Linked DNA regions of Homo sapiens: all the other regions are linked to region 3. The links are contacts of gene promoters, found by promoter capture Hi-C in human tissues and cell types (Jung and others, 2019). All regions are on one chromosome and are shown on one strand. The core of a region is centred on a gene start or on the middle of the fragment in contact, and the rest is flanking DNA. Distances in the headings are between cores, read along the strand shown. Region 1 overlaps EML5 (EMAP like 5). Region 2 overlaps PTPN21 (protein tyrosine phosphatase non-receptor type 21). Region 3 holds the start of EFCAB11 (EF-hand calcium binding domain 11). Region 4 overlaps DGLUCY (D-glutamate cyclase). Region 5 overlaps EML5 (EMAP like 5). Region 6 overlaps EML5 (EMAP like 5).

What was found. Contacts are between HindIII fragments. The study calls those that stand out against the background at their distance.
Region 1: a fragment that was not itself captured here is called in contact with the fragment with the promoter of EFCAB11 in region 3 in 1 of the 25 tissues and cell types used here (lymphoblastoid cells).
Region 2: a contact is called between a fragment that was not itself captured here and the fragment with the promoter of EFCAB11 in region 3, in 1 of the 25 tissues and cell types used here (lymphoblastoid cells).
Region 4: a contact is called between a fragment that was not itself captured here and the fragment with the promoter of EFCAB11 in region 3, in 1 of the 25 tissues and cell types used here (dorsolateral prefrontal cortex).
Region 5: a contact is called between a fragment that was not itself captured here and the fragment with the promoter of EFCAB11 in region 3, in 1 of the 25 tissues and cell types used here (aorta).
Region 6: a contact is called between a fragment that was not itself captured here and the fragment with the promoter of EFCAB11 in region 3, in 1 of the 25 tissues and cell types used here (lymphoblastoid cells).

Annotation. Positions count from the first base shown.
Region 1 is chr14:88,648,050-88,652,242 of GRCh38, forward strand. It overlaps EML5 (EMAP like 5), which reads right to left. Exons shown (of 44, transcript NM_183387.3): 28 at 1,863-1,877. Among named protein-coding and RNA genes, the nearest start is that of ZC3H14, 87 kb to the left of the region's middle. The HindIII fragment of the contact is 5,237 bases long and covers 1-4,193 here.
Region 2 is chr14:88,470,800-88,474,751 of GRCh38, forward strand. PTPN21 (protein tyrosine phosphatase non-receptor type 21) reads right to left here. Exons shown (of 19, transcript NM_007039.4): 14 at 2,866-3,003; 15 at 1,445-1,666. Among named protein-coding and RNA genes, the nearest start is that of PTPN21, 82 kb to the right of the region's middle. The HindIII fragment of the contact is 3,644 bases long and covers 1-3,377 here.
Region 3 is chr14:89,953,118-89,957,375 of GRCh38, forward strand. EFCAB11 (EF-hand calcium binding domain 11) reads right to left here and starts at 1,613. Exons shown (of 6, transcript NM_145231.4): 1 at 1,469-1,613; 2 at 789-884. The coding sequence starts at 1,543. TDP1 (tyrosyl-DNA phosphodiesterase 1) reads left to right here and starts at 2,810. Exons shown (of 17, transcript NM_018319.4): 1 at 2,810-2,853; 2 at 3,461-3,683. RefSeq lists an enhancer at 1,342-1,842 and a silencer at 2,908-3,137. The HindIII fragment of the contact is 8,047 bases long and covers 1-4,258 here.
Region 4 is chr14:91,147,410-91,151,096 of GRCh38, forward strand. All of the region lies in intron 1 of DGLUCY (D-glutamate cyclase), which reads left to right. Among named protein-coding and RNA genes, the nearest start is that of SNORA11B, 23 kb to the left of the region's middle. The HindIII fragment of the contact is 5,320 bases long and covers 1-3,687 here.
Region 5 is chr14:88,739,708-88,743,680 of GRCh38, forward strand. It overlaps EML5 (EMAP like 5), which reads right to left. Exons shown (of 44, transcript NM_183387.3): 5 at 680-865. Among named protein-coding and RNA genes, the nearest start is that of EML5, 51 kb to the right of the region's middle. The HindIII fragment of the contact is 5,935 bases long and covers 1-3,973 here.
Region 6 is chr14:88,761,632-88,765,720 of GRCh38, forward strand. The region is part of intron 1 of EML5 (EMAP like 5); the gene reads right to left. Among named protein-coding and RNA genes, the nearest start is that of EML5, 29 kb to the right of the region's middle. The HindIII fragment of the contact is 3,048 bases long and covers 642-3,689 here.

The sequences.
Region 1 (4,193 bases), core at 1,159-3,658, 1.3 Mb before region 3:
TTAGAATTTTGCTAGTAAAAAAAGTAATCTTTAAAAAGTTTTTTTTCTCTCTTAATAGCATAATGATCAAAACAAAATTGGAAGGAATCATGAAAGTCATTTCATCCATTTTCCCACTGAGACCAGGAACCTTCTTTACATGTCTAGAACAATCATTGTACAGCTTTGATGACAACTAATCATCTAAACTCTGTATAAATACTGCTTGTGACAGGTCTCTTCTACATAAAAAGCCATTCATATCCAAGATAACAATGATATCTCCATTTAGTTTTCTTGTTTTGAAACAAGATTCCCAGAATAATAATTATTATATTTTTTTGAGACAGGGTCTTGCTCTGTCACCCAAGCTAGAGTGCAGTGGTGTGATCATGGCTTACTTGAGCTTTGACCTCCCACGCTCCAGACATCTTCCTGCCACAGCATCCCACGTAGCTGGGACCACAGGTGCACACCACCACACCCTGCTAATTTTTAAAATTTTTTTTGTAGAGACGGTGCCTCATCAGATTGGCTAGGCTGATCTTTAACTCCTGGCCTCAACTGATCCTTCAAACTTAACATCCCAAAGTGCTGGGATTACAGGCATAAACCACTGCACCCGGTCAATTAACTATTCTTTATATGAAGTGGCCTCCCAACCTCCCTTCCTCCTGTGCTTTCTTCTAGCCCATTATAAACTATCCAAGTCTCCTTTAAAATGTAGAGATCAGTACTGAGTAAGCTATTCTAGATGTGAGGCTAGATCCGGGTGCTTTATTTCTGGTAAAATAGTATAAGATTTTATGGCCCATTTTAGAGGTTGCTTCATACTCTGAACTCATATCTTTGTACACACCACTCTGCTTAAAACAGATGATGGATTCCTGCTGTAGATATAATATTAACAGGTGCCTATTATTTGAGTTTCTGCACCATCTGGTCTCAAGTCTACTGTTTTCATCCTTATCTCCCAGCATTTTCCTAGTGATACCTTCCTCCCGCCACCCCCCACCCCCGAAACAGGGTCTTGCTGTGTTGCCCAAGCTGGAGTGTAGTGATGCCATCACAGCTCACTGCAGCCTCAAACTCCCAGGCTCAAGAGACCCTCTCACCTCAGCCTCCTGAGTAGCTGGGACCACAGGGCTGCCACCACACCCAGCTAATTTATTTTTACTTTTATTTTTTGTAGAGACAGGGTCTCATCATGTTGTCTAGGCTGGTCTTGAACTCCCAGGCTCTAGCAATCCTCTCACTTCGGCCTTCCCAAGTGCTGAGATTACAGGCCTGAGCCACAATTACAGGCCTGAGCCACCGTGCCCAGCCATGATACCTTTTTTAATTTATAAAACAGACTAGCCATTTCCACACTGTCGTTTCAGAAACTCTTTCAAGACATTTTCACATCACCAAAGGTAGATATAAAAGTAACCCAAAGAGTCTTTACCTACATGTCATTTTATTAAACATACAAATACCATAGTTACCCTCTTTTCATCTTTTTAAATGAATGGATTAAACATGCATTAAATCATGTTAACAGGTTTAAAATTGAATAGTCTTTCACTTAAATATATGTGTGGTTAGGTTTGTTTTTACGAGCCTCTGAAACTTAAAGAAAACCAAAACTATTCATTTGCATTGTAGTAGTTTGTACAGTCATATGTAAAACAATTTATCATAATGAAGACCCTTATAATAACAACCATATATGCTATCTAAAAATGCAACTCTTTTATAGAATTTGTCCTACTTCATTTTATAATGCTTTGTTGACAAATGTAGTTAAATGTTTTATAGGGAAAAAATACCTTAAAATACCATAAAGAATAAAATAAAGGGTAAATTTTTGAATAAAATATTTTCTTTTATAAAACACTTACCTTACTACTCCCTGCCTTCAAAAGGAGCAAGGGGGAAAAAAGTAGGAAAACATATAAAAATTGATGATGAATAGAATACAGCATTTTAGCAAACAGAAGAAAGGCAACATGTCAACAGAATTTTAAGGAAATACAAAAATGTCTAACTTATGTCACATTGGTTTAAACATTGATTTAAATATTTTTATTCACAAATACTGGAAATTTGACAAAAATTAACTACTTTAAATACATAATATTTGTTATAAAAACATTTATTGGCTGGGCAAGGTGGCTCATGCCTGTAATCCCAGCACTTCGGGAGGCTGAGGTGGGTGAATCACTTGAGGTCAGGAGTTCGAGACCAGCCTAGCCAACATGGTGAAACCCCGTCTCTACTAAAAATAACAAAAAATAACTGGGCGTGGTGGTGCCTGCCTGTAATCCCAGTTACTCAGGAGGCTGAGGCAGGAGAATCATTTGAACCCAGGAGTTGGAGGTTGTAGTGAGCCAAAATCGTGCCACTGCACTCCAGCCTGGGCGACACAGCAAGACTCTGTCTCAAAAGAACAAAACAAAACAAAAAAATAAAAACAAAAACATTTATTAAAAAAGAAAAAGGTAAAATTATCACTTAGGAAAAACATCCACGAAAGTATCAACCAAATAGAATGGTTATTGTCATCAGAAGCATTTTTCCTTTTAAGTGGATATTTGATAAGTATTTAATTGTTTTTAATTTTTTTTTCATTTATTTATTCTCCCAGAGACAGGATCCCACTCTGCTGCCATAGCTGGAGTGCAAGGGTGCGATCATAGCTCACTGCAGCCTCCAACTCCTGGGCTGAAGCAATCCTCCTGCTCAGCCTCCTGAGTAGGAACCTCCTGGTACAGGCATGTACTACCATTCTTGGCTAATTTTTCTATTTTTTGTAGAAATGGGGTCTTGCTGTGTTACCCAGGCTGGTGCTAAACACCTAGTCTCAAGCAGTCCTCCCACTTCAGCCTCCCAAAGCACTGAGATTGCAGGCATGAGGCACAGCACCTGGCCTGTTTTCCATATAAAGTGCTTTATTTCATATTTATGACAGTAATATATGTTACTAAAAAGCAATTATTTAAATAAACCATGAACCATATTATCTCCTCACAAATATTCTAAGTTGGTAAAAGAGATATGAACCTCTTCATTTGTAATCTCCTTTGATTTTTTTTCATTTTGTGAAAATGAAATCACATTGATGACTTCTGCCTTGTCATTTTCTTTTTTTTTTTTTTTTTTTTTTTAAGGCAAAGAGTAGAGCTTGGACTCTGCCACGGGGGCCAACAGACCCTCTCTCTCCCTCCCCACACCTTGTCATTTTCAAAATATTTAGCAGGGTTGAAATTGTAAAGTAAATTGAGAACAAAATGCAAAGCAATTTGAAAAATTACTTTGAAAAAGTTAGCTGCAGAATATACAAGCTAACATCAAAGATTTCAGTTATGACAGTGTTAATCATTCTTCATGAGTAGTAAAATATTTCCATCTGTCAGAACATGCCTCACTTCAGCAATGGGTGGAAATTTACATTTAAGTGTTTTACCGTGAATGAAGCAGACTACAGATTAAAATTAGGTCACATTTTCTGACATACCAAATTTATCCAATAAATAATTTTTTTAAAAAATCAATATAACAAATGAAAGAAATTTATGGGAATGTCTAGAGCCCCTTCTTCCCCATAGAACACTTTTCACTTTTCATTACTTAGGAGACATAATTTTCCTTAAGTCATATTAAACACTACACTTCAAATATTCTAATTAGAATATTTAAATAATATTATATTTTCATATTTATCTGTATTTATCTAATAAATACATATGTAGCGCTTATTGCTTTGTGAATATTTAATTTCAGAAATAATGTTTAAGTATTTACCAGGTATCTCCTCAGTTAACTTTCATTTCATTCCAAGGGATAAGGTGTCATTAATGAAGACCTACTATCTAAATTCTTGATTTACATTATTTCATTTAAAACTTGAAATATACCATAAGTTAGGGATTATAATGTTCATTTTGCCACTGAGGAAACTGAGGTTCAGAAAGAATGAATAATTTTTCAAACTCACACAACTGGTAATGAAAAAAATGAGTATTTTACCCATTTGTCTGACTCCAGAATTCATGTCCTTTGCACTATACGATGCTGCATTCTAGCAAGTTACTTGAAACATGGAATTCTGTACAAGTACTTAGATTATGGTATACTGTGCTTTCTTAAAAATATCCCTAATTTAATACTTTGCCTCTTTATACATAATGAAAAACTGGATGATCACTCTCCATCCCCTTTCCTTAGGTGAC
Region 2 (3,952 bases), core at 306-2,805, 1.5 Mb before region 3:
TAGGGAGGAGGAGGGGACTAGTGAGAAGCTGGCAGGGTAGGTGTCATCATTTATTTATTTCCATGTAAGTGAGATGAGGTCCCACAACACAGCTTATAAAGTGAGGTCCCACCTCATTTTAGATCTAGGCGTCAGACCCAGGTCTATCAAATTCTTTCCTCTATTCTGCAAGTGGCTGCTGAAGATTTTGAAATATCACTACAGAACTACAGTATCATTCATTCTTATCCATCTAGTCATGAGAGACTGGATGAGTTATTTCAAGGAAATGCTCGGTTTTTAAGTAAATTATGCTGATATTATATTTAAAAACAAAATAGTATGTGCATAGATTCCCAAAAGCCATCAAGGGGTACTGGCATTCACAGGCAGACTGCCAGTCTCCAGAAAGCCTTGGTGTCAGCTTGTTCCCTTCTCAAATAATACTTGCAAACTAAAGAAAAAAACCACCACCTGTCCACAGTTACTCATTCACTCACCATGAGATTTCTCCTTCCCAAAATAAAGAATTGAATGTGGCCAGCATGAACAAAGGGTACAATGAGGAAGAGGGAACATCTGGCTTTATTCCATCATGTGTTGTGAATCATCATTTTGTCCATTTTCATAGGAGTGATATTACCCCAGATAAGGTGCCAAGAACATACACTAGGGAAGGACAGCCTCTTAAATACATGGGACTGGGAAGACTGGATATCCATAAGCAGAAAAGTAAAACTGGACCCCCTATCTCTCACCATAAACATTACCCCAGTTTAATGGCATTATACTGGTTCCAGGAAAAAAGCACTTCTTCAAAGAAAAAAAATGATACTTAAAAATTATTATAAAGAGTATGTAAAGAGAACAGATGGCACCTTGGTAAGTTGAAAGCTTTTGTGAACACCATCAAAAAGCCCAGACACTTTTGTTACATAAAAATGCATGTCAGTATGTGATGAGGAAAAACTAGCAATTCAGTGGCTCCCAGAATTTATGAGCTAAAAAGAGGTCTTCAGATTTAGAAGGACAAAGTTCTAAAGCCAGGCAACACAAGGTCAAGGCTGTAGGGAGCCATGATCATACCACTGCACTCCACCTGTCTGGGCGACAGAGCAAGACTCTATCTCAAAAAAGGCAAAAGAAAAAAAAAAAAGCCGGGCAAATAAGTGCGCCCTGAGTCCTGGTAACAGTGTTGGGGGCAGAGTGGTTTCGCACATGGAGAGTAGACATGACTTTGGCTCTGTCTGATAGACGCTTTTTATCTAGCACTGGTATGTGGATTTCCCAGCTTGCAGTACAGTTTGTCACAAATGTTTAAAACTAGGGTGTTTATCTAAAACAATACAATAAAAATAAATTTTAAAATATCTGAATTCTAAACAGACATGAATACAATTCTTACCATTCTTGTAACTTAACTGAAACTGCATGTGCTGTTGATTACTTGAGGCGTTCCTCTCACCTTAATATGTGATGCGTTGATGTAACCAGTGTTGTTTTCTTTAGTTGGGACCAACTCCACTCTCACATCATCATAAGGAAGAACATCTTGGAATCGATTTCTTTCTGCATTTTCAGGGAGTCGTGCTGTTGAGCACTCCCCATCAACTAGCCGTTTCTTAAGAATTCTTTCATATTCTGTGAATACCATTCCTTGTTCTAATCGTTGTTCCAGAATTTTACACTATAAAACAGAATATGTGTAATAACATGAATACAGCCACACGTCGTGGCTACCTTTTGACTGTATATTTGAAATCTTGTTTTCTGCTTCAAATCTAGCACTGTATAATATTGAAAATTCTAGGTTGGGCACGGTGTCTCATGCCTGTAATCCCTGCACTTTGGGAGGCCAAGGAGGGAGGATCACTTGAGCCTAGGAGTTCAGGACCAGCCTGAGAAACACAGTGAGACCCCGTCTCTGCAAAAAATTAAAAAACGAGCCAGGTGTGGTGGTGCATGCCTGTGGTCCCATCTACTTGGGAGGATGAGGCAGGAGGATTGCTTGAGCCCAGGAGGTTGAGGCTGCAGTGAACCATGAGAACCTATCTCAAAAAAACCAAACCAAAACCAAAACAGAAACAAAATTCTAGGTGAAAATGAAGTTAAAATTTTAAAAAGCCACAACAACAAGAGTTAAAAGAACAAAAGACAATCATTTTGGTGAGAAATATAATGCAAACTTTTGTTTAAAGTTGAAAATTGGCCTAAAGAAATTTGTTGAATTCATTTTCTCTAGATCTGTGGTCAATTTTGTGACCCCTAATAGATGGAATTCTCCTGGGGAACAGTAAGTAAATCTAGGGGACGGATAATGAGTTCCAACAGCTATGAACAAATGTTTCCATTTTATGTCATACGATATATAAAAGACTAAAGCAGTAGGAAATATTCGAAACTACCTCCAGGATCCCGTTGTAAAGCAAATGTATGCCTATCTGATTTTGATGTAATAAAACCTCATAGAAAATACACCTCAGGCACAAAGGAAGTTTTGAAAAATTGAGAAACTACTCTCGAGATAAACTTTCAGTATAATAAAAGTCAATGTCTGCTGCTTTTCCCCTGTATGCTCCTGTATTTTTGTAGATTTCTTCTCACTTTAAGGCCATCAAAATCAAGACTGCTCCAAAAGGCCAGGAGAAGGTAAAAAAGAACACTGAGAAACAAACAAACAAAAAATCAGCATTCGAACCTGAAATTATCTATTAAGACATTAGCTATACATTTGCCCCAATTTTGAGGCCCATATTACAAAATTCCTTAACACTCATTTATTATTAAATTGTGTTAGAAAATTCACCAAAATCTCATGAAGGCATTTGCGTAGTATTTACCGGTTGTTCCAGAGAAGGCACAAAGCCCTGTGTGTCCCATACATACCCTTTCATCATTCGTTGCTCTGGTAGCCACTTCCTTTCCTTCATCAGGCAGAGGCACTCGAGATAGGGAGAGTCCATTTAGGGCAGCCAGTTTAAGAGGACCAATTTTTTTTGCATCTACTCGAGTCTTTTTCATTCCCTGTAAAAGGATTTATATGTATATATGAAATATACACAAATACAACCCCTGTGAAAAGAAGTTTCAATGCACTGAAGACCAGGAACACACAGAGGGAGTGTTCTCCTTTGCCAATAAACCCAGAAAGATTACACTCCTTCACACACCACTTGTTTAACAAACATTAGTAGGAAGACATTCCTTTCAAGGCCAAAGCCCTGATAAAGTCTTCCAGATAGAAGGTTTTGAAACACTATTGGTTACAAAGTTCTGTTGTAATGAAAGGTGAGGCTCCAGGCAGACTGCATTCCTTTTAAAACAAGACAGACGTAACAAATCAGCTGAAGTCCAAAAAAAAAAAAAAAAAAAAAAAACAAAAGCTTTAAATGCAATCAATTGACTATAGTAAGCTTTTATAAATTTTTTTTTTGAGGGTCTCACTCTGTCACCCAGGCTGGATGGAATGCAGGGGCACCATCATAGCTCACTGCAGCCTCAACCTCCAGTCTCAAGCAATCCCACCTGAACCTCCCGAGTACCTGGGACTACCAGCACATGCCACCATGCCCAACTAATCTTTGTGTGTTTTGTAGAGATGGGGTCTCACTATGTTGCCCAGGCTGGTCTCAAACAACTGAACTTAAGCAGTGTTGGCCTCCCAAAGTGCTTGAGATTACAGGCGTGTGCCACCATGCCCGGACAGCTTTTTATAATTTTTAAAATATATAAATTCTTTAAGTCATTCTGAAAAATTAAATGGTTTCTGCAGCAGCCCCCTTTGTGTGTTAAGCCCCCTCCTCATATGCTACTCTGCATTCTAGTGCAGACTTAGATGACCCGGGTTAGATCACGCTACCTCTCAGAACGGCTACGTTTTTAAACAAGGAAAATAAAACAGGGCTAAAATCTCCATCATGACACCAGGAGGATAGGACAGAAGAGAAAGCATCAACAAAATCTTGTCTCCTGA
Region 3 (4,258 bases), core at 363-2,862:
TGACCTAGCAGTTATACTTCTAGGAACTTATTCCACAGATATACAGCCACAAGGACATAAATGTGTGTATCATTGCAGCAATGTTGGCAGAAAAAAAAAAAAAACCCCACCTATATAACCCCAGACAGGAACCTGGCTAAAAAGAATATGCAACCATATTTTAAAATGCAGTAGTGGTGTGTGCTTTTAGGTTGATATATTGTTAAATGAGAAAAGCAAGTTAAAGTAGGCACAATATTTACCCATTTATGTTTTCAATAAAAGACTATGCATATGTATGTCATGGATAGAAAATTTCAGAATTACACAAAAAAACTGTTAATGGTAATCCCCTAGGAGTGGGACCCTCTGGTAGGCGGCGAGCGGATTTTATGCTCAACTTTATACCTTTCTGCACTGTTTTAATTTTTTGACCGTGGATGTATTTTATAAACAAAGCAACAAAAGTAAAACGAGAAAGAGACTATGTCATGTCCTATGTAAATTTCTCCTGTTACCAACACTCCCCTCTCAGTCTTCCCTCTTGGCACCTCTCTAGCATCTTGTATTTATAGTAGTTATTAGCAGCCTGGTGGTGAGATAGGCTTGTGTAGACTCCAGTGGAAAAGATTTCTACTTCATCTCTGGGCTGAGGTGTTAAGAGGAAGCTAAAATTCAGCACTGGACACATCTCTGAAATTGCTTATAAAGCAATTTATAAACATCCTAAGCTAGCCCTGTGAACTTTTCTTAGGATCCATTCACCTTTGATCGTCTACCCCATCCCCAAATATATAAGAAAGCTCTACCTTGGAGGGCTTGTACCCAAACAGCATTACAACAGCAGTTTTAAAGTCCTCTCTGCTGAGATATCCTTTGTGATCTTCATCACATGCTTTAAATACCTGAAGAACATTAAATAGCTTTAGTTAATGAGACAGAAATGGTTTATTTTTATTACTAGTTTATTATACAGTTTGGACCTCGAAAATCTAAAACTTGGCCCAGCGGTAGAGTATGAAAATAGAATTTCATTATCCCAATATTAATTCTCAAGAAATCTTAAAGATGGACTGAAATTTTCTTAAACATGGGCTGAAATTTCCCTCAAAGTGCAAACGAGTTAACCGCTAGGTGACGCAAATTAATTCATTTAGGCCACTGAGATAAATTCTACCCAAAATTCAGTCCTGGAGTTAGGAAGGTGAGGCAAAGGGGCTGGCTTTGAAAGGCGGGAGAGATGCAGACTCAAGGTTACCATTAATAGACTATATAGAGAGAAAGGAGATGGAACTTGGAGGTAGCCGTAGTCCTGGACGGGGAGCCAGGAGCCCTGCAGCTCCAGGATCAGTCATTAACCACGACCCTTTGGACAGGCAGCCCAGGTCTTATCTGCACACCCGGCAGAGTGAGACCCAGACACGGGAGAGGAAGCGAGAGGCCCAGGCCAAGCTGAAGTCCGAGGCTCAGTCGCCCTCCGGAAACCTACTTCCACCCACTTCCTGTGTTCCGAGGGACTGGCTTCCCACGTCCGCGACCTGGCTCTGGCCTCGGAGAAGAACATCGCGACTACAACAACCGAGCCCCAGCAACCCAACCAGCTACCACCGCTTTCCCAGCCTGGCTGGCAGCCTACCGCGGCCACGCCCACCGCGGCTCAGGAAGCCGAACTTCACCGCGCAACTCCGACGTCTCCTCCCATTGGACAACCTGCCAGCCACTCGCGTTAATCCCGCAGGGCTATTGGCCAGAGTCTTTGTTTAATTACGTTTCCTTGGAGCCGCCCTGGCAGTGAGGCGCCCAGGCCTGCCCCCAGCACTTGGCTCCACCCCCTGACTGTCCCTTAACTCGTTGAGCGCGGCTGGAAATCCAAGCGCTTCTAGGTGCTGGTTCAATGCCTGGTTCATGATTTATTTCATTCTCTCCCTCCATCTTGCAATAGGTTACTTTTAATCATTTAGATCTATGACACTATGCTAAACGTTATAGGAGACAAAAAGACTGTGAACAAACAAGAAGAACCAAACGAAAAGAGCCAAGTCCAGGATTCTCGTTCAGATCAGCAAGTCATTGGGATCGAGCTCCTAGGGCAGCTACTACATCTGTTATGTCCTCAAGATAATCCCAGCACCTAGCACTGTGCCTGGCACAAAGTAGATCTTCAATGAAAGAACGAAACGAGCCGTTATATTTACACAGATGTATTTCACTCAGTCCTCTGGAAGAGATGCCTAGTGTGAAAGAGATTCCAAGAATAAATACCATAAACAGCACCGAGCCCAAATCCCACAGCAAACATCCTTATTAAAGGCAAGGAACGTGGGGCGAGTTCCTTTTCTCAGAAGATTTTACGAGAACGCAACTGTTGCGAAGAAGGAACAGACATTCGAGGTTCTGAGTCCAATGGGAACTCATTTAACTTTTTATTTTGCAGCAGATTTCAAAGTCTGCACCCAGCCCCTCCCAGGACACAGGTCTCCTTGCAGCTGCCTTTAACCTAAGCGTATCCTCTCTCCACTTTAAACCAAACGCCGCTGCATGGAGCCCTGGGAGCCTGAGCCATGAGAATCCTGTAAAGAGGGTGAGTCTTGCTATTAGTTAACTAGAGCGAAGTTAGGGGACGCCTTTCTGGTTCTCCTCTCGTTTTAAGAAGTCTCCAGGAAGTAAGCCAAGAGCTAGGAGAGACCAGGTTTCCCCAGCCCCGTCCTGGGTAAACACCCGGCGGGCTTTAGGACCCAGCGGTGGGCTCTCCGGAAGGGGAAGGGGCCGGGCCTCGAGGCACAAGCCGCTGCCGCCAGGGTTTGAACTGCGCGCATGCGCGGCGGCCGCCGAAGGGGCGGGATCCGAGGCAAGCGTTGGTTCTGTGCGCCTCAGGTACGTGTTGGGCGGCAGTGGGCGCGGACTCGGTGCGGTCTCTCGCGGGCTGCGGTCGGGCCCGGGATCCTGCTCCTGGCCGAGTCGCGGTGCGCGGGCTGCTGGGGTCCGGCAGGGCTGGAGGCGGACCGCGAGGAAGCGGCGCGGCCGGGAAGATGGGGCAGGGTCGCCTCGGCCCCGGGGCCTCGGTTTCCTCCGATCACAGCGCCTCAGGGGGCGCGCACGGGCGCTGCGGAGACCTGTGTCCTGCCGGGGCGCGGCGCTAGGGGCCCCTGCTCGGGTTTTTATTCCCAGACCTAAGCTTACAGGTGCGTGGTCCCAGAAAGTGAGTAGGAAAGCGCCCACCACGTGCCAGGCGCTTAAGCTTTCTGTGCTCGGTTTCCCAGTATAGGAGGACGGTCACGGTACGTAGTATAGAGTTGTCCTGAGGGTGAAGCGAGTTTACACTTGGTGAGGCGCTTCGAATCGTGCCTGGCCGGCCCCAAATGAGCACGCAGTAAGGTTAGCAGCTGCTGCCGTCACTTCCTCACGTTCTGAATCTGCTCCGTCCCCAACGCCTTCAGCAAGAGCCCTCTCACTTCCTTTGTCTTCAACCCATTCTCCGCAGAGTTGGAGCACACAGCTGTATTAAAAAGGCAAATCGAAGGCCGGGCGCGGTGACTCACGCCTGTCATCCTAGCACTTTGGGAGGCCGAGGCGGCTGAATCACTTGAGGTTAGGAGTTTGAGATCAGCCCGGGCAACATGGTGAAACCCCGTCTCTACAAAAATAGAAAAATTAGCCGAGCGTGATGGTGGATGCCTGTAATCCTAGCTCCTCGGGAGGCTAAGGTAGGAGAATTGCTTGAACCTGGGAGGCAGAGAGGTTGGAGTGAGCCGAGATTGCGCCATTGCGCTCCAGCCTGAGCGGCAGAGCGAGACTCTGTCTCAAAAAAATAAATGTAAATCGGACTCCCCTTCTTAAAGCCCTCAGTGGGGTCCCATTGATCATTGCATAAAATCCAATTTCTTTAACAAGTCTTCTCCCCTCACCCGCTTCGGACCACTGCCTGCCTTGCCTAAGTCCTTTCTTATGACCTCTTTCCCACCTCTGCCGGCTGGGTTCCCTCTACTTGGGAATGCTCTTCACCCCATCATTTAGACAGCAGGTTCCTTTTGGCCCTCTGGGTCTCATTTATATGTTACTTTTTAAGTATATTCCAAAGGTCACCCCTATTTTTCTGTCTCATACTTATAAAATGTAATGAATGTCTAACTCATCTTGGCTATTAAAATTTTTATGTGTGGGTCTGTCTCTTCTGCCCTGAAATTAGCTCTGCTAGGGTAGAAACTATATTGTTAACGCCTCATTCCCAGTTTTTGGTACATAATAGCTGCCCAGTAAGTTATTGAATGAATGAACTCCA
Region 4 (3,687 bases), core at 72-2,571, 1.2 Mb after region 3:
AGCCACAGGCAGTACAGAATAGGGCCCAGCCTCAACTATTTTTGGATGCAGCTTGAATGGACTGAAAGACCCTTTGAAACAAGTGCTGGAACCATCCCGTAGCACTTACATAACCATCTCTGCAAGGCTGTTGATAGATGAATGTAAATGAACCTAGGCAGAGCTTAGCTCATTTTTATTTAGATTTAGACCAATTTCATGTCTTCTGAAACGTAACCCATATATACACACACTAAATCTAACTCTTTTATTTTAGGCCTAGCATGAGAGGATCAAGTTGAAAGGGCATCTGTTATTATATCTGTCCCATCATATCTGCTTCTGTGATGGCTTTATTATGTACATTTCTTTCTATACATTTGTGCTCTCAGGTGGCATTCTTCTTCAGAGCAGGGCAAGTGTAATTCTGGACCAATGTGTGATTCTGAGACCAGACCAACCAACTGAAGGTAATTTTATTCTCAATTAAAGAAACACAGACGGGGCGCAGTGGCGCACGTGAGCCTGTAGTCCCAGCACTTTGGGAGGCTGAGGCAGGTGGATCACTTAAGGTCAGGAGTTCAAGACCAGCCTGGCCAACATAGTGAAACCCCATTTCTACTAAAAATACAAAAATTAGCCAGGTGCAGTGGCACGCACCTGTAATCCCAGCTACTTGGGAGGGTGAGGCAGGAGAATCGCTTGAACTAAGTAGGTGGAGGTTACAGTGAGCCAAGATTGCACCGCTGCACTCCAGCCTGGATGGCAGAGTAAATCTCTGTCTCAAAAAAGAAAGATACACACATCTCTAACAAAGGATTTTTTTTTTTTCTTGAGACAGGATCTCTCTCCATCACCCAGGCTGGAGTGCAGTGGCTCCATCTCGGCTCACTGCAACCTCCACCCCCAAGGCTCAAGCGATATTCCTACCTCAGCCTCCCAAGTAGCTGGGACCACAGGTGTGTACCACCATGCCTGGCTATTTTTTTGTATTTTTAGTAAAGACAGGGTCTCACCATTTTGCTCAGGCTGGTCTCGAACTCCTGAGCTCAAGCGATCCACCCACCTTGGCCTCTCAAAGTGCTGGGATTATAGGCATGAGCCACTGTGCCTGGCTAGGAATTTATTTTAACAACCAAAAACTTAAAACTCAATAACATCATTAACTCATAAATTATTGTTTAGTTACAGATTACGAAAATGATAGAACCAGAAGGTGCTAACAAAATGTCTGTCCTGCATGTGTGGCATTTGACATGAAGAAACTGAGGCCCTTGCTGGGCGCAGTGGCTCATGCCTGTAACCCCAGCACTTTGGGAGGCCAAGGCAGGAGGATCACTTGAGCTCAAGAGTTCAAGACCAGCCTTGGACAAGATAGTGAAACCTTGTCTCTACCAAAAAAATACAGAAGTTAGCCAGGCATGGTGCAGTGTACCTGTAGTAGCAGCTACTGAGGAAGCTGAGGTAGGAGGATCGCTTGATCCCAGGAGGTCAAGGCTGCAGTAAGCCGTGATTGTGCCACTGCACCCCAGCCTGGGCGACAGAGTGAGACCCTGTCTCAAAAAAAGAAAAGTAAAGGCTACGCGCGGTGGCTCATACCTGTAATTTCAGCACTTTGGGAGGCCGAGGCGGGTGGATCACCTGAGGTGGGGAGTTTGAGATCAGCCTGACCAACATGGAGAAACCCCGTCTCTACTAAAAATACAAAATTAGCCAGGCGTGGTGGCGCATGCCTGTAATCCCAGCTACTCGGGAGGCTGAGGCAGGAGAATCACTTGAACCCGTGCGGCGGAGGTTGCTGTGAGCCGAGATGGTGCCATTGCACCCCAGCCTGGGCAACAAGAGCGAAACTCTATCTCAAAAAAAAAAAAAAGAAAAGAAAAGAAAAGAAAGAAACTGAGGCCCAAAGAGTTTGCATACTTTGCTATTAGTTCAGCCTGTCTTCTGTGTATGCAGGTGGTGTCTCTAGGTCGTTATCACTCTGGCAAATTCTCTCCCAGTGATGGAGATGTGTGGAGCCCCCAGTCTCTCCAACCAGGGAGTGGTGCTCATGGTGACCCTGAAGTAGGCTTGTGGGTCAGGCCGTTGGTTGAGCTGTGCAGTGCCAGAAGTAGCTAAACATCCTTAAAGGAACTGCCTAGTTTATCATTAGGACTAACCATGGAACCGATGACTCAGCGTTTACTGTTGGCAGTATCATACACTCAACCTGCATGTAGATTTCGTGCATCATATTTTGTGGTTACAGGAATTTGGCCTGATGGACCCGTTGCAGAAACTCTGTACTAAATAAGCAAACACGTGTGCTCTAGTTTTACAGGCCAAGCAAACTGTGAAACAGAAGGGTTGGCCTTTCTTGCCCTTAGCAGTCATACCTTGGACTTTTGCCACTTGGTTGGGTTGCTTTATTTGGCTAAGTAACTAAAAGCAGATTTACTTTGAAGAATGAGGTTCTCAAATATTCTAGAACTCTCTAAGAATGGACATTCACAGTCATGCTGGGCAGACAGAGTTATTCCCAAATTTTCAGAGTCATAAAGCTTATGTTTGGGCTGGGTGCGGTGGCTCACACCTGTAATCCCAGCACTTTGGGTGGCCGAGGCGGGCGTATCACAAGGTCAGGAGTTTGAGACCAGCCTGGCCAATATGGTGAAACCCTGCCTCTACTAAAAATACAAAAATTAGCCAGGCATGGTGGTAGGCACCGGTAGTCCCAGCTACTCAGGAGGCTGTGGCAGGAGAATTGCTTGAACCCAGTAGGTGGAAGTTGCAGTGAGTGGAGATTGCGCCGCTGCACTCCAGCCTGGGTGACAGAGTGAGACTCCATCTCAAAAAAAAAAAAAAAAAAAAAAAATCCAGTTTGGCCTGTGTGAAGCACCCACACAAAACCTTCCTTTCCCAATATTAGCGCCTTCCTGTGGAGCTGGAACAGGGGCCCCGGGGCTAGAATATTTGATATTCAAGACACACACTGAGTCTGGTGTGGTGCTTTTCAGCAACACATTGAAAAATTGTTGCTTTTCACACCAACAATTTGAAACTAAACATTTAATGTGAATGTTTCTTTTTTTTTGAGAGAATGTCTCACTGTCCCCCAGGCTGGAGTGCAGTGGTGCAATCGTGGCTCACAGCAGTCTTGACCTCCTGGGCTCAAGCAATCCTCCTGCCTCAGCCTCCTGAGTAGCTGGGATTACAGGTGCACGCCACCATGCCAGCTAATTTTTTTAGTTTTTGTTTTTTGTAGAGATGGGGGTCTCGCACTCCTGGACTCAAGGGATCCTACCGCCTCAGCGTCCCAAAGTGCTGAGATTCCAGGCATGAGCCACCACACCTGGCCTTAATCCGAATGTTTTTTAACAATCACAACTTGATTTTTAACATTTTAATTTAAAATTTTTATTATGGTTAAAAATATACAACATACAGTTTACCATTTTAATCATTTTTAAGTGTACAGTTCTGTGGCATTAAGTACATTCACATTGTTGTGCAACCATCACCACTCTCCATTTCCAGAACTCTCTTCATCTTCCCAAACTGAAACTCTCTGCCCATTACACGGTAACTCCCCATTCCCCACCCCATCTCCTGGACCCAGCCTGTGGTCACCACCATTCAGCTTTCCATGTCTGTCCATCTGTCTGTTGTGGGTGTCTTATAGAAATGGAATCATACAATATTTGTCACTTATGTCTGACTTATTTCAGT
Region 5 (3,973 bases), core at 1,132-3,631, 1.2 Mb before region 3:
GAGAAATATTTGCAACATGTATGACTGTCAAAAGATTAATAACCCTAATATTCAAATGAATAAAGGAAAGAAAACCAATTCAACAACCACAAAAAATTTAAAAAGTAAAAAAGAAAAGGGTAGGAAAACCCAATTAATAGAAATGTAATGCACTGAGGACTTTTCTACACAAAGATCTTGCTGTTAACAACATGGCAGCTTTGTGCTATCTAGCTCCCTTTACTTTGTAAGGGGGACCCAAACTGCTAAAAAGCTCAAACCAAAAAACGCTAAGAATTTAAACAGCAGATTTCTTTTTAAGTTTAGTAAGTTATTTACACGAAAATTTAATTGCCTCTGGTAAATTAGCCTCAAGAGCACTAGCTTTATTCTGGTGTGGTTAATCTAGAATACTTTTAGATTGAAGTCAACAAGCTTTTTTTCAACACTACTCTTCAGAAAGACACCATACTAAAGCAATAGCTTTAACAAGATACTAATTATACTAATGTAATAAATATCAATGAGTCTAATTGATTTCTTCATTGAAATCTTGAAAACAAATAGATAATTCAGTTAGAAAAGCATTTTCAAGCAACCAAACTGACTAGAAACAATATACTATATTACGCAGTCTATCATTCTAAGACAAGGTTAAGTAATACACATGAAAGTGTTTAAAATACTTAAATGTACTTACAGCATGGGCTCCTTGTATTGTTCGTATAAGATTGATTCCTTTCCAAACATATATATCCCCATTGAGTGCACCAGAATATGTTAATTCATCCCTTGCACAGGCTAGGCACAGTATTGTCTGAAGGTCACCCGTCTTACCAAAGACACCTCGTTTTGGGGTCAGAGCATTTCCACATAAACTCCAGAACTAAAAGGTATATAGTATAATCAAATTACCAAAGAATTCTTATAAAATAAAGTAAAACATTCCCAATACTTTGATGCTATATTAGAGCAGTGAGCTAAAAATTAACTAAGAAATTGCCTTATGATAAAATAGCATTCAATGTTCAGATTCTCATCCTAGTGCTGTCAAAAGCTACGTTATAGCATAGCTATATAGTCACTGGTTTCAATTCTTATCTGTAAGAATAAGGGGTTTGAATCAGATTATTTTTAAAATATGCTATGCTTTCCTTAGGTTTCTGAAAAGAAATCTACATAAAACTTAGATTAAGCCAGGCACAGTGGCTCATGCCTGTAATCCCAGCATTTTGGGAGAGCAAGGTAGGCAGATCACCTGAGGTCAGGAGTTCAAGACCAGCCTGGCCAATATGGCGAAGTCCCATCTCTGCTAAAAATACAAAAATTAGCCAGGTATGGTGGCGCATGCCTGTAATCCCAGTTACTCGGGAGGCTGAGGCACAAGAATCGCTTGATATCAAGAGGCAGAGGTTGCAGTGAGCCAAGAGTGTACCACTGCACTCCAGCCTGGGCGCAGAGTGAGACTCCGTCTCAAGAAAAAAAAAAATTTTAGGTTAAAAAGTTGGGAATCGGTTAGCAATGAAAATGAAGGTAAGTCATCATAGACTAAGAAGAAGAAAAAGGACCAAATCTAACATACTCTCTCTGATAGAAACATTAAGGATAGGAAAAAAAGAGTATGCTACAGCTCACGGTAACTGCAGCTCACTGTAACTATAATATTTGATATTTTCAAAGCTGAGCAATTGCTTTGCTTGTAAAGCTTAAAAAAATAAGATAGATGTCCATGTGGAATGATTTGTTCATTCTTGGGAGAAAATAAGAAGTTAACCATGAATCTTCATTACCAGGGCTTTTGTTCTATTAGGTGGAATTAGGTAAATTTTTATAGTTCACGGAGAGAAATTTAAAGAAAAAGGAGTTGGGGGGAAGTGGACACAGTGGCAAACGCCTGTAGTCTCAGCAACTTGGGAGGCTGAGGTGGGAGGATGGTTTGAGGCCAGGAGTTTGAGGCTACAGTGAGCTATAAATCACACCTGTGAATAGCTACTGCACTCCAGCATGGGCCACATGGTAGGATCCCATCTCTAAAAAATAAACCAAAAAAATGGGACAGGGCAGAGATACATACATTAAATAGTTCTGCATAAAGAAATTAGGCCCAAAGAAAAAATTCAACTTTGTAATAAGTAATTAACATTTAAAATAATTTATTATCATATATTCTTATTTTAAAATTTGAAGCCTCAAAGAACTAAAAATTATGATCATTATCTATTCAAAGATCTAATGAGTACTTTAATTAAACTTTGTAATTTTTAAACTTAAAATCTCCATAATTTGTGTACATAAGTGGCTTGTTTTCTTTCTTTCAGCATGTCCTAATTTGAATCCATTATTTTCTTCTAGATCAGTGATTCCCAATGTTAGCTTCACATTAGAATCACCTGGGAAATCATAAAATGGGATGCCTGGACTCCCAATTGAGATGAACTGAGACAGAATCTCTGAAGCATGAAGCCCAGGTACCCAAATTATTTTGATGCTCAGCAAGGGTTAAGAACTATTGTTCTAGAATCCAAATCAATATTGACCAATAGAAATTTCAGTGATGATGAAAATATTACACACACACACACGCTTTCCAATACAGTAACCACTACTAGATACATAAGCATATGAAATGTACTGCTAGTGTGACTGAGGAAATGAATTTTAAGTTTCATTTAACTAATTTGTGTTTAAATAGCTATGTATGGTTGGACAGTGCAGTTCTAGATCATCTCTGGGAATTAATTTCCTCACATGTATTGCCTGCAAAGAGAACTATGTTACTATTCATTTCTTCTAGCAAAGGGAAAGAAATGTAACTCATTATAAAAATATAGTTTATTTAGTTTGAGATAAGCTTTTTATAAAAACCTGAAAATGGAGCCTTTAGCTTTACTTACAATATAAAATAGTAAGATCTCCTTATTCATAATTAATTTGCCAATCACTTATTAAGCACTTAATATATATCAAGTACCATATCAAACACACTGTCCATCAAAGATGAACAAGACAAAAATACCTTCACAGTGCTTATATCATGTGCCTTAAAGCCCAGCATACAGCCTTTTTGGTATTAAATATTTGTCAAAAAATAAATATTTACTACTATCCATCAATCAAATCAATACCAGAATAACAAATCAAGAATTGCAGCAGCAGTGAAAGATGCACTGGAGAAAACGTGGATGGAGTTAGGCATATTGAAATAAAGAATGTGAACACAGAACCTTAATTAATTCACTAGGAATTAACTGTTACCAGGAACTGTTACATCAGACAGTGGAAGTAAAGCAAGTTAATTCCAATTTGTTCCAATGATTTAAAAGTAACTATAAACATAATAATGAATATCACCACTGACTTTACAGGCTTCAAAATCTGAGCTGTAATTATAAAACAAAACCCAGAGCTTTCATAAGCAAAGTAAATAGTGGCTATCAAGGCTGAGAGAGGGACAAGGAGAGATTTGTTAAAGGATACAAAATTGTAACTAGAGAGGAGGAATAAGTTCTACTACTCTATACCACTGTAGAATGAGTATAGGTAATATGAATACACAGTTTCAAATAGCTAGAAGGAGGATATTGAATGGTCCTAAAACAAAGAAATAGCAAATGTTTGGGATGATAGCTAATTACCCTAATCTGATCACCATACATTTTTATGTATCAAAACATCACTATGTACCCATGAATATGTACTATCATTATTTGTCAAAAAAAAAATTTAAAGGCTGAGGTCAAATCAGGGAGCAAATATAGAAAAAGGAAAAGCAACACTTTCAGAAAGCAGACCATGTGTTAGGCACTATGACAAGCACTTGAATATACACTGCCGCCTTATTTAATCATCAATTCTTTGAGGATGGTAACAGCAGTCACAGTTTTAAAATGTGAAAATAAAAGCTCAAAGAGGTTAAATAACTCATAGCAGGTTAAACAGCTAATAAATGGCAAAGCCAGGTCTACTCATGTTGCTTCTCCCACACCATTCTATG
Region 6 (4,089 bases), core at 916-3,415, 1.2 Mb before region 3:
TTGTGAACAGTGCTGTAATAAACATACATGTGCATGTGTCTTTATAGTAGAATGATTTATAATCCTTTGGGTATATACCCAGTAATGGGATTCTTGGGTCAAACGGTATTTCTGGTCCTAGATCCTTGAGGAATCACCACACTGTCTTCCACAATGGTTGAACGAATTTACACTCCCACCAATGTAAAAGTGTCCCTATTTCTCCACATCCTCTCCAGCATCTGTTGTTTCCTGGCTTTTTAATGATCACCATTCTAACTCGTATGAGATGATATCATACTGTGGTTTTGACTTGTGTTGCTCTAATGACCAGAGATGAGCTTTTTTTCATATGCTTGTTGTCTGCATAAATGTCTTCTTTTGAGAAGTGTCAGTTCATATCCTTAGCCCACTTTTTGATAGGGTTGTTTTTTTCTTGTAAATTTGTTCCTTGTAGATTCTGGATATTAGCCCTTTGTCAGATGGACAGATTGCAAAAATTTTCTCCCATTCTGTAGGTTGCCTGTTCGCTCTGATGATAGTTTATAAATGTATATGCACCCAATACAGGAGCACCCAGATTCATAAAGCAAGTTCTAAGAAACTTACAAAGACACGGGCCATGCGTAGTGGCTCACACCTGTAATCCCAGCACTTTGGGAGGCCGAGGCAGGTGGATCACCTGAGGTCGGGAGTTCGAGACTAGCCTGACCAACACAGAGAAACCCAGTCTCTAATAAAAATAAAAAATTAGCGGGTTGTGGTGGCACATGCCTGTAATCCCAGCTACTCGGGAGGCTGAGGCAGGAGAATCACTTGAACCCGGGAGGCAGAGGTTGCAGTGAGCTGAGATCATGCCATTGCACTCCAGCCTAAGCAACAAGAGTGAAACTCCATCTCGGGGGAAAAAAAAAGAAACTTACAAAGAGATTTAGACTCCCACACAGTAATAGTGGGAGACTTTAATACCCCGCTGTCAATATTAGATCAATGAGACACAAAATTAACAAGGATATTCAGGACTTGAACTCAGCTCTGGACCAAGCAGACCTAACAGACATTGACAGAACTCTCCACCCCAAATCAACAGAATATACACTCTTCTTAGCACCATATAGCACTTATTCTATAATTGACCACATAATTGGAAGTAAAACACTCCTCAGCAAATGTAAAAGAATGGAAATCATAACAAACAGTCTCTCAGACCACAGTGCAATCAAGTTAGAACTCAGGATTAAGAAATTCACTCAAAAACCATACAACTACACGGAAACTGAACAACCTGCTCCTGAGTGACTACTGGGTAAATAACAAAATTAAGGCAGAAATACGTTCTTTGAAACCAATGAGAACAAAGACACAACACACCAGACTCTCTGGGACACAGCTAAAGAAGTGTTTAGAGAGAAATTTATAGCACTAAATGCCCACAGGTGAAAGTGGGAAAGATCTAAAATCGACACCCTAACATCACAATTAAAACACTTAGAGAAACAAAAGCAAACAAATTCAAAAGCTAGCAGAAGACAAGAAATAACTAAGATCACAGCAGAACTGAAGGAGACAGAGAAGAAAACCCTTTCAAAAAATCAATGAATCAGGACCTGTTTTTTTGAAAAGATAACAAAATAGATAGACAGCTAGCAAGACTAATAAAGAAGAAAAGAGAGAAGAATCAAATAGACACAATAAAAAATGATAAAGAGGATATCACCACTGATCCCACAGAAATACAAACTACCATCAGAGAATACTATAAACAACTTTATGCAAATAAACTAGAAAATCTAGAAGAACTGGATAAATTTCTAGACACACACACCCCCCCAAGACTAAACCAGGAAGAAGTCGAATCCCTGAATAGACCAATAACAAGTTCTGAAATTGAGGCAGTAATTAATAGCCTACCAACCAAAAAAAAGCCCAGGACCAGACAGATTCACAGCCGAATTCTATCAAAGATACAAAGAGGAGCTGGTACCATTCCTTCCAGAACACTTCCAAACAATAGAAAAAGAGGGAATTCTCCCTAACCCATTTTATGAGGCCGGCATCATCCTGATACCAAAACATGGCAGAGACAAAACAAAAAAAGGAAATTTCAGGCCAGTATCCCTGATGAACATCGATGCAAAAATACTCAATAAAATAGCAGGATGTTTAATTAGAAGTGACAAGAATAGACACTCTGGTCTTTTTCCTGCTTTTACAAGGAAAACATTCAGTCTCTCACCATCAGGAATAAACTTAGCTGTAGGTTTTTACAGATGCTTTTATAGCCGGGTTAAAGAAGTGGACTTCTAGTCCTAGTTTGCTAAGCATTTTAAAAATATGAATAAGTATTAAATTCTGTCAAATGCTTTTCCTGTAACTACTGAGATAGTCACCTGGCTTTTCTTCTTTAGCAATTATATAGCGAATTACACTGATTAATTTTTAAATGTTGAACCAGCCTTGTATTCCTGGAATGAATCCTACCTGGAATGAAACCTGGTTATGATATATTATCCTACTGACGGATTTTATTTGCTTATTAGCTTATTTTGTTGAGAATTTTTACATCTATATTAATGAGGGACAGTTGTCTGTAGTTTCCTTTTCTTCAAATGTTTGTCTGGATTTTGTATTAGAGTGATGCCAGCCTCATAAACACAGTTGAGAAGTAGTACTTCCTCTTCTATTTTCTATAAGCAATTGTGTGGAATTGGAATCATTTATTCTTGTAAGTTTGGTAGTTTATATCTTTTGAGGGAATAGTTCATTTCATCTCAGTTGTCAAATGTATAAGTTGTTTATAGTAATCCCTTATTCTCCTTTTAACGTCTTTAGGTCAATAGTGATATCCTGATGAATACTGGTAATTTTTGTCTTCTCTTTTTTATTCTTGGTCAGCCTAGCTAGAAGTTTATCAATCTGATCCTTTTCAAAGAACCAACTTTAGGTTTTTCTCTATTGTTTCACTGTTTGCACTAATTGTCTTCATTATTTCCTACTTTGTTTGTTTTTGTGTTTGCTCTTCCATTTCTATTTTCTTAAGTCAGACTCCTAGATTACTGACCTGAGATTATTTTTCTTTTAAAAAATATGCATTTTAATGCTCCAAATTTCCCTTGAAACACTGCTTTGGCTGAATTTTACAAATTTTGATATGTTGTATTTTCACTTTCTTCTTCTTTTCATTTTCATAATATATTCTACTTTCCCTTCTGTTCTGTGTTACTGATTTTTATTTTGATTCCATTATGGTCAGAGAACATACTCTATATGATTTCAATTCTTTTAAATTTGTTAAGGTTTGTTTTATAATATATAGCCTATTTTGGTAAACGTTTTGGCACTTGAAAAGGATGTGCATTCTGCCATGACTAGCTCATGCTGTTTTCTATGCCATGAATAATAAAGTCCTTTGTCTCTAACCTAGGAATTTCACGTCTTTGCCAGCATCCAAAGAAAAAAGTAACATATTAGTTTGTAACAAGGGTATTATATTAGTTTTCTATGCTGATGTCACAAATTACCATAAATTTAGCACCTTAAAGCAATACAAGCTTATTATCTCCCAGTTCTGCAGGGCAGAAATCTGGTTAGTGTGGCTCAGCTGAGTCCTGTGCATACAGTCTCACAAGGCCAAAAGTCAAGGTGTTAACACAACTAAATTACTTTCTAGAGTCTCTGGGGATGAGTCAGCTTCCAAGTTCATTCAGAACGTTAGCTGAATTCAATTCCTTGTGGTAAAGGGACTGAGGCTTTCACTCCCCTGCTGGCTGTCAAGGGGGAACTGCTCACCTCCTCAAGGCCAACTGCATGCCTCATGATGTTACCACCTCCATCTTCCAATCAGCAACGGCACATTGAGTTCTTCTCAAGCTTTGAATCTTTCTGACTTCTGCTGCATGTTTTCTCATTCCAGCTAAAGAAAATTATTTGCTTTTAAGGGCTCACATAATTAGACTGGGCCCATCTAGATAATTCAAGATACTCTCAATATCTTAAGGTACATCCCTATCTTAATTATATCTGCAAAGTCATGTGTGCTTTGTTTAACATAAAAAATTCACAGGTTCCAGGAATTAGAGTATGGATATCTTTGGGGCCAGTCTGGCTACC